Linked DNA regions of Homo sapiens: regions 2 and 3 are each linked to region 1. Evidence: promoter capture Hi-C in human tissues and cell types (Jung and others, 2019). All regions are on one chromosome and are shown on one strand. The core of a region is centred on a gene start or on the middle of the fragment in contact, and the rest is flanking DNA. Distances in the headings are between cores, read along the strand shown.

Region 1 (2,500 bases), core at 1-2,500:
TTTCCCAGTAAAGAAGGTAAAGAAGATATAAAAATGATTCATTCTGCTGTTAGTGTCAGTCTTTTGCTCAACTCCCATTTCCCCCAAGTATTTAGATTTTTTTTTTCTTTAAGAAAATAAATGCCAGCTGGGCATAGTGGCTCATGCCTGTAATCTTAGCACTCTTTGGGAGTCCAAGGTGGGAGGGTCGCTTGAGCCCTGGAGATTGAGGTTGCAGCGAGCTGGGATTATGCCACTGCATTCTAGCCAAACAGACAGAGCGAGATCTTGTCTCAAGATTAAAAAAAAAAAAAAAAAAAAAAAGCCAACCACTTACGTTTACAGAATTAAAATTGCAGCCTGCCGCTGACAACCTGAGAAAAAGAGACAAAGTCAGTGGAATAGCCCTTGTTATTTATGCAAGTCCGCATACAGCTAGCCCTGGAGTTCCTGGAGAGCAAGGAACCTCTGTCCCAAACTTGACTCAGAGCTTCCAAAGTTGGTGTATTTCAACAAGTAAGCATTCCATTGAGCCAACAATTTGGTAGGCTACCAGCGGCTCTGGAGCGCCTGTTGATGATGACAGTTTTTGTGGGGGCATCTCAATATGACACACAATTGACACTGACCAGAAACACAGCGCCAAGGACACTCTAGTCCTAGCCATGAAATGTTATGATTCCAGGTTTTCAGGACAGAGCAGAGTCCACTTCTCATCTCCAGTATCCGTAAAAATTTGTCCAAAATGTAACTAAGAAAACACAATGATATTAGTTACTTCTGCTCCCCGTCACCCTCAACCCCACTGATTACGAGATGGGAACTCACACAAAACTTTGAGACAAAAGAGCAACAAGTTTGCTTTATTGTTTGCTTGTTTTGTTCCGGAGTCGGGGCCGGGAGGGAGTGCAGGAGGAGGGATCCAAGCTTCCAAGCCTCTGCTCCGCTCTCCTTCTATCCAGTTGGTCTTTAGGGCACTGAAGGAAACTCTTCTTCAGAAATAACCTTTTAACTTTTCTTCTGTCAGCTGCCTGCCAATCACGGAGCCAGAGGCTGAGGGGAGGCTTTGAGCCGGTCTGCGAGTCCGGAAGGCAAAGATCGCGAAGCTTGGCGCTCCAGAACGCTCAGGGGGCAGGTGACACAGTCGTGGGTTCCCCGGCGGGCGCTGGCTTGACAGTTTCCTCCCCGCCCACTGGCAGGGGAGCGCCCCGCCGGGCTGCACGCGCGCGCGCGCAGGGGGGCATAAAAGCCGCGGCCGCGCGGAGACGCGGAGCTCGCCCACCGCCCGCCCCAGCAGTGGCTGCACCATGCACGTGAACGGCAAAGTGGCGCTGGTGACCGGCGCGGCTCAGGGCATAGGCAGAGCCTTTGCAGAGGCGCTGCTGCTTAAGGGCGCCAAGGTAAGCCCGGCGCCCAGCCGCGGAAATTTCTCTGCCCACACACTCCGAGACTCGCCCCGCCGCCCGAGGTGCACTGGCGGAGACAGGGAGGCCGCGCCCGGCGTGCCCACTTTGCCACTTCCAAAATTTGCTGAAGCTGAGGCTGTGAGCACACCTCAGAAGTGGCTGGGAGGGAACCCAAACCTAATTGCCAAATTTCAGGTCCAGGAGGGGAGCCTCTTGTGTGTTTATTGTTTGTCCGTCTATTTCGTGAGCTGCGCAGGCCCGCGATTCCTCTCCTCTTGTCTATAGGTAGCGCTGGTGGATTGGAATCTTGAAGCAGGTGTACAGTGTAAAGCTGCCCTGGATGAGCAGTTTGAACCTCAGAAGACTCTGTTCATCCAGTGCGATGTGGCTGACCAGCAACAACTGAGAGGTAAGACAGGGGAATCAATCTGTCAACTGGGAACGTGCTCTCAACAAGCAACAACCTGAAGGCAGCCCGGCCAGGGGGCCCTGGGTGCCGCCTCCGCTGCCTCCTCGAGAGCAGCTACCTTGAAGCTCCAAAAGACAGTTTGGACTGATACGTTTCCTTCTGACAGCCCAATAGCTGTAAAACCGAAAGAAAGGCAAGACTGCTGGAGAAATCCTTTTATTGTAGTCATTTGGCAGCATTAATGTAATCAAAATTCCTTTATGTATTCAAAGACAGTGCTGCTGCAGTAATTATTAAATGATTGAAATTGCAGACAAAACTTGGAAAATTAAAGTAGGTTAAGTAAGGTACTGTTGACAAACAACTTCTCCCAGAAAGCTGGAGTCCAATGACAATCAAATGTGGCAGTGTTTTTCGTTTAAACATATCAGAATACAAGTTCAAGGAGCATCATCACAGAAGTGCTAGATGCTTTTGACCATATGTTTTCTCCGGCTTTTTCCCCAATGAGACAGTACTTTAAAATAATAATAATAGTAATCATAATAAAGTATACAATGTTAGAATTGTAGTAGAAACATCTCTATCAGCCTTTCCTCAATGCTTTCCTGTTTCCGGCTACTCACTTAAAATAGACCAATCTACTTGTGAAGTATCAGGGACAATATTGGCATACACAATAAACAGCTTTGATTATAAAGCTGTT
Region 2 (2,553 bases), core at 29-2,528, 310 kb before region 1:
GGCTAGTCTAGTGAAAATCCCCTGCCCTTACATAAACACCCTTGATATCTGATCAAATTCCTTATTCCTTACCCTCAATATCTTGTCATGCTGGTTTACCTTCAATAAAAATCCTGTCAAGTCAGTGTAAGAAGAATCCCCTTATCCCTGATGTTTTCTCTTAGTAACTTTTCATTCACCAGCCCCTACTCCTTGACCATAGATTCGCACTTGTTCCTCTTGTAATCAGAGTCAAGACCAATGTCTCTACCACACTATAAGACCCATTGCAACAATCCCTATACCTATTGCAATATTCTCCCTTGAATAAGCTCTTCCATATTGTCTCTAAAGAGTGTCTTGAATATTTTTTAACATGTTACAATTGTAAAAATTCTAGTATAATGGATAATATTAACTTATTTTTCATAAACAAGGCACTCTCCTGAGGCAGGAGAATCATCTGAACCTGGGAGGCACATGTCTCAGTGAGCTGAGATCGCACCACTGCACTCCAGCCTGGGCAACACAGTAATACTCTGTATCAAAAATAAATAAATAAATAAAGTGCTCTTAGAGTGAACTGAGGGCACACATAAAAACTCCAAAGTTGCTTTTCGATCGCCAAAGAAAACACACTACAACCTAGAGATCTTAAATAATTTTATGAAGAGAGAATGGGTTAAAAAGCTTAGTAAGCATGGAATTTAAAAAAGGGTTAACCAAAGAACAAAGAATATTTATGCACTCAATCATTGATTTAAAGTATATTTACCGACCACTTACCACATGCCAGACACTGTTAGACACAAACATGTATTTTCCTCATCTTCATGGAGTATTCAAACAAGGGCAAACATCAAATTATATTTCATCTGTGAAGAAAAAAACACCATGAATTAAAAGTAAAGGGGAAATTTTGTTATATATTGTGCTCAAGAAAGAAACTGATAGCCGTACTGTGAGTTAAAGGCTGAAAGGTAACCAAAGATAGAAAGCCCAAGAGGACAGGTGTTTAAAGTAGACAAATTCTGAGAAAAGAAACAGCTCATGTGACTGATACATAGTGGGGAAAAGGGAAACCAGTAAAGAAAAAAAAAGTCTAAGCAATTTTGAGCAAGAAGAACAAAGCTGACGGTATCACACTCCCTGATTTGAACATGTATTACAAAACTAGTTATTGAAACAAGGCACTGGCATAAAAACACACATACAGACCAGTTGAGTAGAACAGAGAGCCCATAAATAAACCGATGCATATAAGGTCAACTGATCTTCCACAAAGGTGCCAAGAATACACAATGAGGGAAAGATAGTCTGTTCAATGAATGGTTTTGGAAAAATCAAAATTCAACACACAAAAAAATGAAATTGGACTTGATCTCCCGCTATATGCAAAAATCAACTCAATATGGATTAAAGGCTTAACTGTAAAACATAAAACAATACAAGTCCTGGAAGAAAACATTGGAGAAAATCTTCTACAAATTAGACTGGGCAATGATTTCTTGGATATGACACTAAAGCACAGGAAAAAAAAAGCAGGGATAAACAAGTGGGATTACATCTAATGAAAAAGCTTCTGCACAGCAAAGGAAGCAGTTAGCAAAATGAAAAAGTAAATTATAGAATGAGAGTAAATATTTGCAGACCACGTATCTGAAAAGTGGTTAATATCTAAAATGTATAATAAACTCAAACAACTCAATAGCAATAAAACAACCCAAACAAAAAATGGACAAGGGAACTGAATAGACATTTCTCAAAAGAAGACATAAAACAGCCAATAAGTATATGAAAAATGGCTTTTACCAGTCATCAGGAAAATACAAATTAAAACCACAATGAGATATCAGCTCATATTTGTTAAGTTGGCTATTATCAAAAAACAAAGGGCATGTGTTGGCTAGGATGTAGAGAAAAGAGAACACTTTACACTGTTGATGGGAATGTAAATTGGTAAAGCCACTATGGAAAACAAGATGAAGATTACTCAAACATTAAAACTAAAATTACCATTTGATCCAGAAATCCTACTTCTGAGTGCATATCTAAAGGAATTGAAATTAGTTTGTTGAAGAGATATCTGCACTTCCATGTTCACTGCAACATTATTCACAGTAGTCAAGATATGGAAACAACCTCTGTGTCCATTGGTGGATGAATGGATAAAGAAATCAGTTGTGACACCATGACTCATGGTAATATATATACACGCAGGAAAGTTATTTAGCCTTAAAAAAAGAAGAAAACCTGAACATTTGTGACATCATGAATGGACCTGAAGGACATTATGTTAAGAGAAATAAGCCAGTCAACAGAAGGATAAATACTATATGATCTCACGTATATGTGGAGTCTAAAACAGTCAAACTCACAGAAACAGAGTAAAGGGTTGGTTATCAGAGGATAGGGGAGGAGTAAACTGGGGAAGGATTGGACAAAAGGTCTAAAGTTTCAGTTATACAAGACAAAAAATTTTTGAATATCTCCTGCACAGCAAAGGGCCTATGATTAACAATGCTGTATTGTATACTTTAAAATTTGTTAAGAAGATAAATCTTACGTTAAATG
Region 3 (2,553 bases), core at 20-2,519, 300 kb after region 1:
TTAATCCCAGCTACTCAGAAGGCTGAGGCAGGAGAATCTCTTGAATCCGTGAAGTGGAGGCTGCAGTGAGCCGAGATCATGCCACTGCACTCCAGCCCGGGCAACTCCAGTCTGGTCAACAGAGTGAGACTCTGTCTCCAAACAAACAAACAAAAAACAAAACAAAAGCAAACAACAACAAAAAGAGATGTCATTATTGCTCTGTGTAGACAAATCATCCAGATAATTTAATTTAGCCATTGAGAGCCTACCCTTCTTTCTTCCAAGATATCCCAAATAAAACTAACTGTAAAAGCAAATATCCTTGCTCCTTTGTCTAGACACCATTGCTACTTTCATTCTTGCTTTGGGCTGTGATGCTTGCTACTCCCTTTTTCTGCTGTCCCAAATTATGAAGCCCTTTTATTCATTTAAAAAGAATACCTATGCATATGTATAAATATATATATATATTTTTCCTTTTTCTAAATAACATTTTATTCATTTTGACCATGTGACTCATTCGTATGGTCAATGAGCCCAAGGTGTTGATGACTCTTAAACATGTTTCTCCTAGCATAAATATTGGTGGCAAAAAGCAGAATAATGATCATAGTTTTGAAATAGAGAATACCATTAATGTCTTTGATTTTTGAAAATGATATTTTAAAAAACAAACATGACTATGTCGTGATACCTTAAAATTCAGGCTGAAAACAATTTATTAGGTAATCCACTTCAGGTTTCTTTTGCAGGAGGATTATTTTCCATTTTCTTATGGATTATTTTCCATTTTCTTGCTAAAATCAGCAAAACATATATACATATAACAATATACCACTAGTTCATTAAAAGAACTTATTCTTTTTGTTCTCAAATCAAGCTCATTTTAGATTGACAATATCTTAATGCATTTTAGGAATATATTGTCAAGATTAAAATCTTACTTTTTATTAGCTGAAGTTGTATATATTCATTATATAAAACTGACTTATGTTGCATAGAATTAAAACCCTCCCCAGAGTTCATAGTTTTAAACAAATATGCATACATATCCAAATACATATTAAATCCAAAGCAAACAATAACTTTATGTTGACAGTGAAAAATGCAACCTTACATACATAGTCTACAAAACAACTGAAAAATTTTAAATGCCAGATATGAGGAAGCCAAAGAATTTTAACAATGAGAAATATGTTATGAATTAAAATATTCAATCTTGAAAACCTTTAAAAGTGAAAGTTGCACTGTAACTGCTTTCTAAGGTAATTTTTGCCACTTTTAGGAAAAAAGATGTTTACGTAACATTTTTAAAAGTACAATCATTTCTTACATAGCTTTATGATTGAGGATAACATTAGTATGCACATACAACATAACACACAAAAGCAAAGCTTAGAATAACATTTTAATTATGTTTTAGTGTATGTGAAATAATTTGTTTTTCTCAATTATATTCCTGGGTCAAGGCCTAAAACATTTATTTGAACCAGCTATATATCTTATTTTCATAAGGGTCTCAGGAGGCAGTAGTCATATGTTGTTACTTCAGCCCTCCACAAAGGCAATACAGTACAGATCTCTGTACTGTAAACGACAACAAGGACCAGTCACAATTTCAGTTCTTGTTACATTGATAAGACTCCTTCAGGTAAGAGATTAAAACATGCCTTTATTATTATAAGGTTAGTGACCATTTTAATGGAATAAAAAGATTATTCCTGTTGCATTGGAGATAGGAAATTTGGGATGTGAATGTATGAGGTAGGTGTCTTTTCTCTCTTGTGCCTGTATTGTTCAAAAGCTCTTTGACATTAGAAAAAGGTTAGCTCTATAATCTTAATATTAATATTTAGTATAAAATCTATGGAGAACACACATTATACAGGGAGCCAAAAAGTTCAACTCTTTTTTTAATGGAGAGAAGGTAAGTAGGTGATCTTCACAGACTAAGAGGTTTTGCCTTTTAACACCAACAACATAATACTATTTATATTTGCTCTATCATTGTGATTAACCTACCTTCCCCTTCCAAAAAAACACACTTAGCTTACTCACCTAACAGTAATGACATATATCATTTTAAAAACAAAGAATAGTTTCAAAATTAATTTTTTCTACCTAATGTGCGTGACTGATGTTGAAAAGTTAGTGAGGGTTACCCATATATTCACACATGTAAATTGTGGAAATAAGAGAGAGAGAAAAAACTCAACAGATATAATCTGTAAAGCTGTCAAAAGACTTTCAAATAGCGAATTCCTTCAGATCATATATTTCAATAGAAGTTGCTGTTTAAATAGAGGTCTCTCATTTGGTGGGAGGAGCTTTTAAAAGAAAAAATACTTGAAGATAAGTAATATTACCTTTGCCATTTGTTATGAAATAAATATATCATGAGGAGTTATGCTTCATTAAAATGTAATACTTATAGATGACAGTTTCATATGGTCAGATATAAAATGTATATATGTTTTACCAGGAAGATTATACAGTATTTTTAATCTTGATTTTTCATGACTTCTTGCAAATATGCATTTATTGCTTTCCAAACCATGCCTGGGAATGAAG

The links. Contacts are between HindIII fragments. The study calls those that stand out against the background at their distance.
Region 2: a contact is called between a fragment that was not itself captured here and the fragment with the promoter of HPGD in region 1, in 1 of the 25 tissues and cell types used here (H1 embryonic stem cells).
Region 3: a fragment that was not itself captured here is called in contact with the fragment with the promoter of HPGD in region 1 in 1 of the 25 tissues and cell types used here (hippocampus).

The regions. Positions count from the first base shown.
Region 1 is chr4:174,521,238-174,523,737 of GRCh38, reverse strand. It overlaps HPGD (15-hydroxyprostaglandin dehydrogenase), which reads left to right and starts at 1,250. Exons shown (of 7, transcript NM_000860.6): 1 at 1,250-1,379; 2 at 1,671-1,794. The coding sequence starts at 1,287. It overlaps LOC105377548 (a long non-coding RNA gene), which reads right to left and starts at 1,125. Exons shown (of 7, transcript XR_007058492.1): 1 at 609-1,125; 2 at 317-353. The HindIII fragment of the contact is 5,489 bases long and covers 1-2,500 here.
Region 2 is chr4:174,833,150-174,835,702 of GRCh38, reverse strand. It overlaps LOC101928551 (a long non-coding RNA gene), which reads right to left. Exons shown (of 5, transcript NR_125900.1): 2 at 766-854. Among named protein-coding and RNA genes, the nearest start is that of GLRA3, 5.2 kb to the right of the region's middle. The HindIII fragment of the contact is 4,065 bases long and covers 1-2,553 here.
Region 3 is chr4:174,219,394-174,221,946 of GRCh38, reverse strand. LINC02268 (long intergenic non-protein coding RNA 2268) reads left to right here and starts at 1,549. Exons shown (of 5, transcript NR_125896.1): 1 at 1,549-1,633. The HindIII fragment of the contact is 5,450 bases long and covers 1-2,553 here.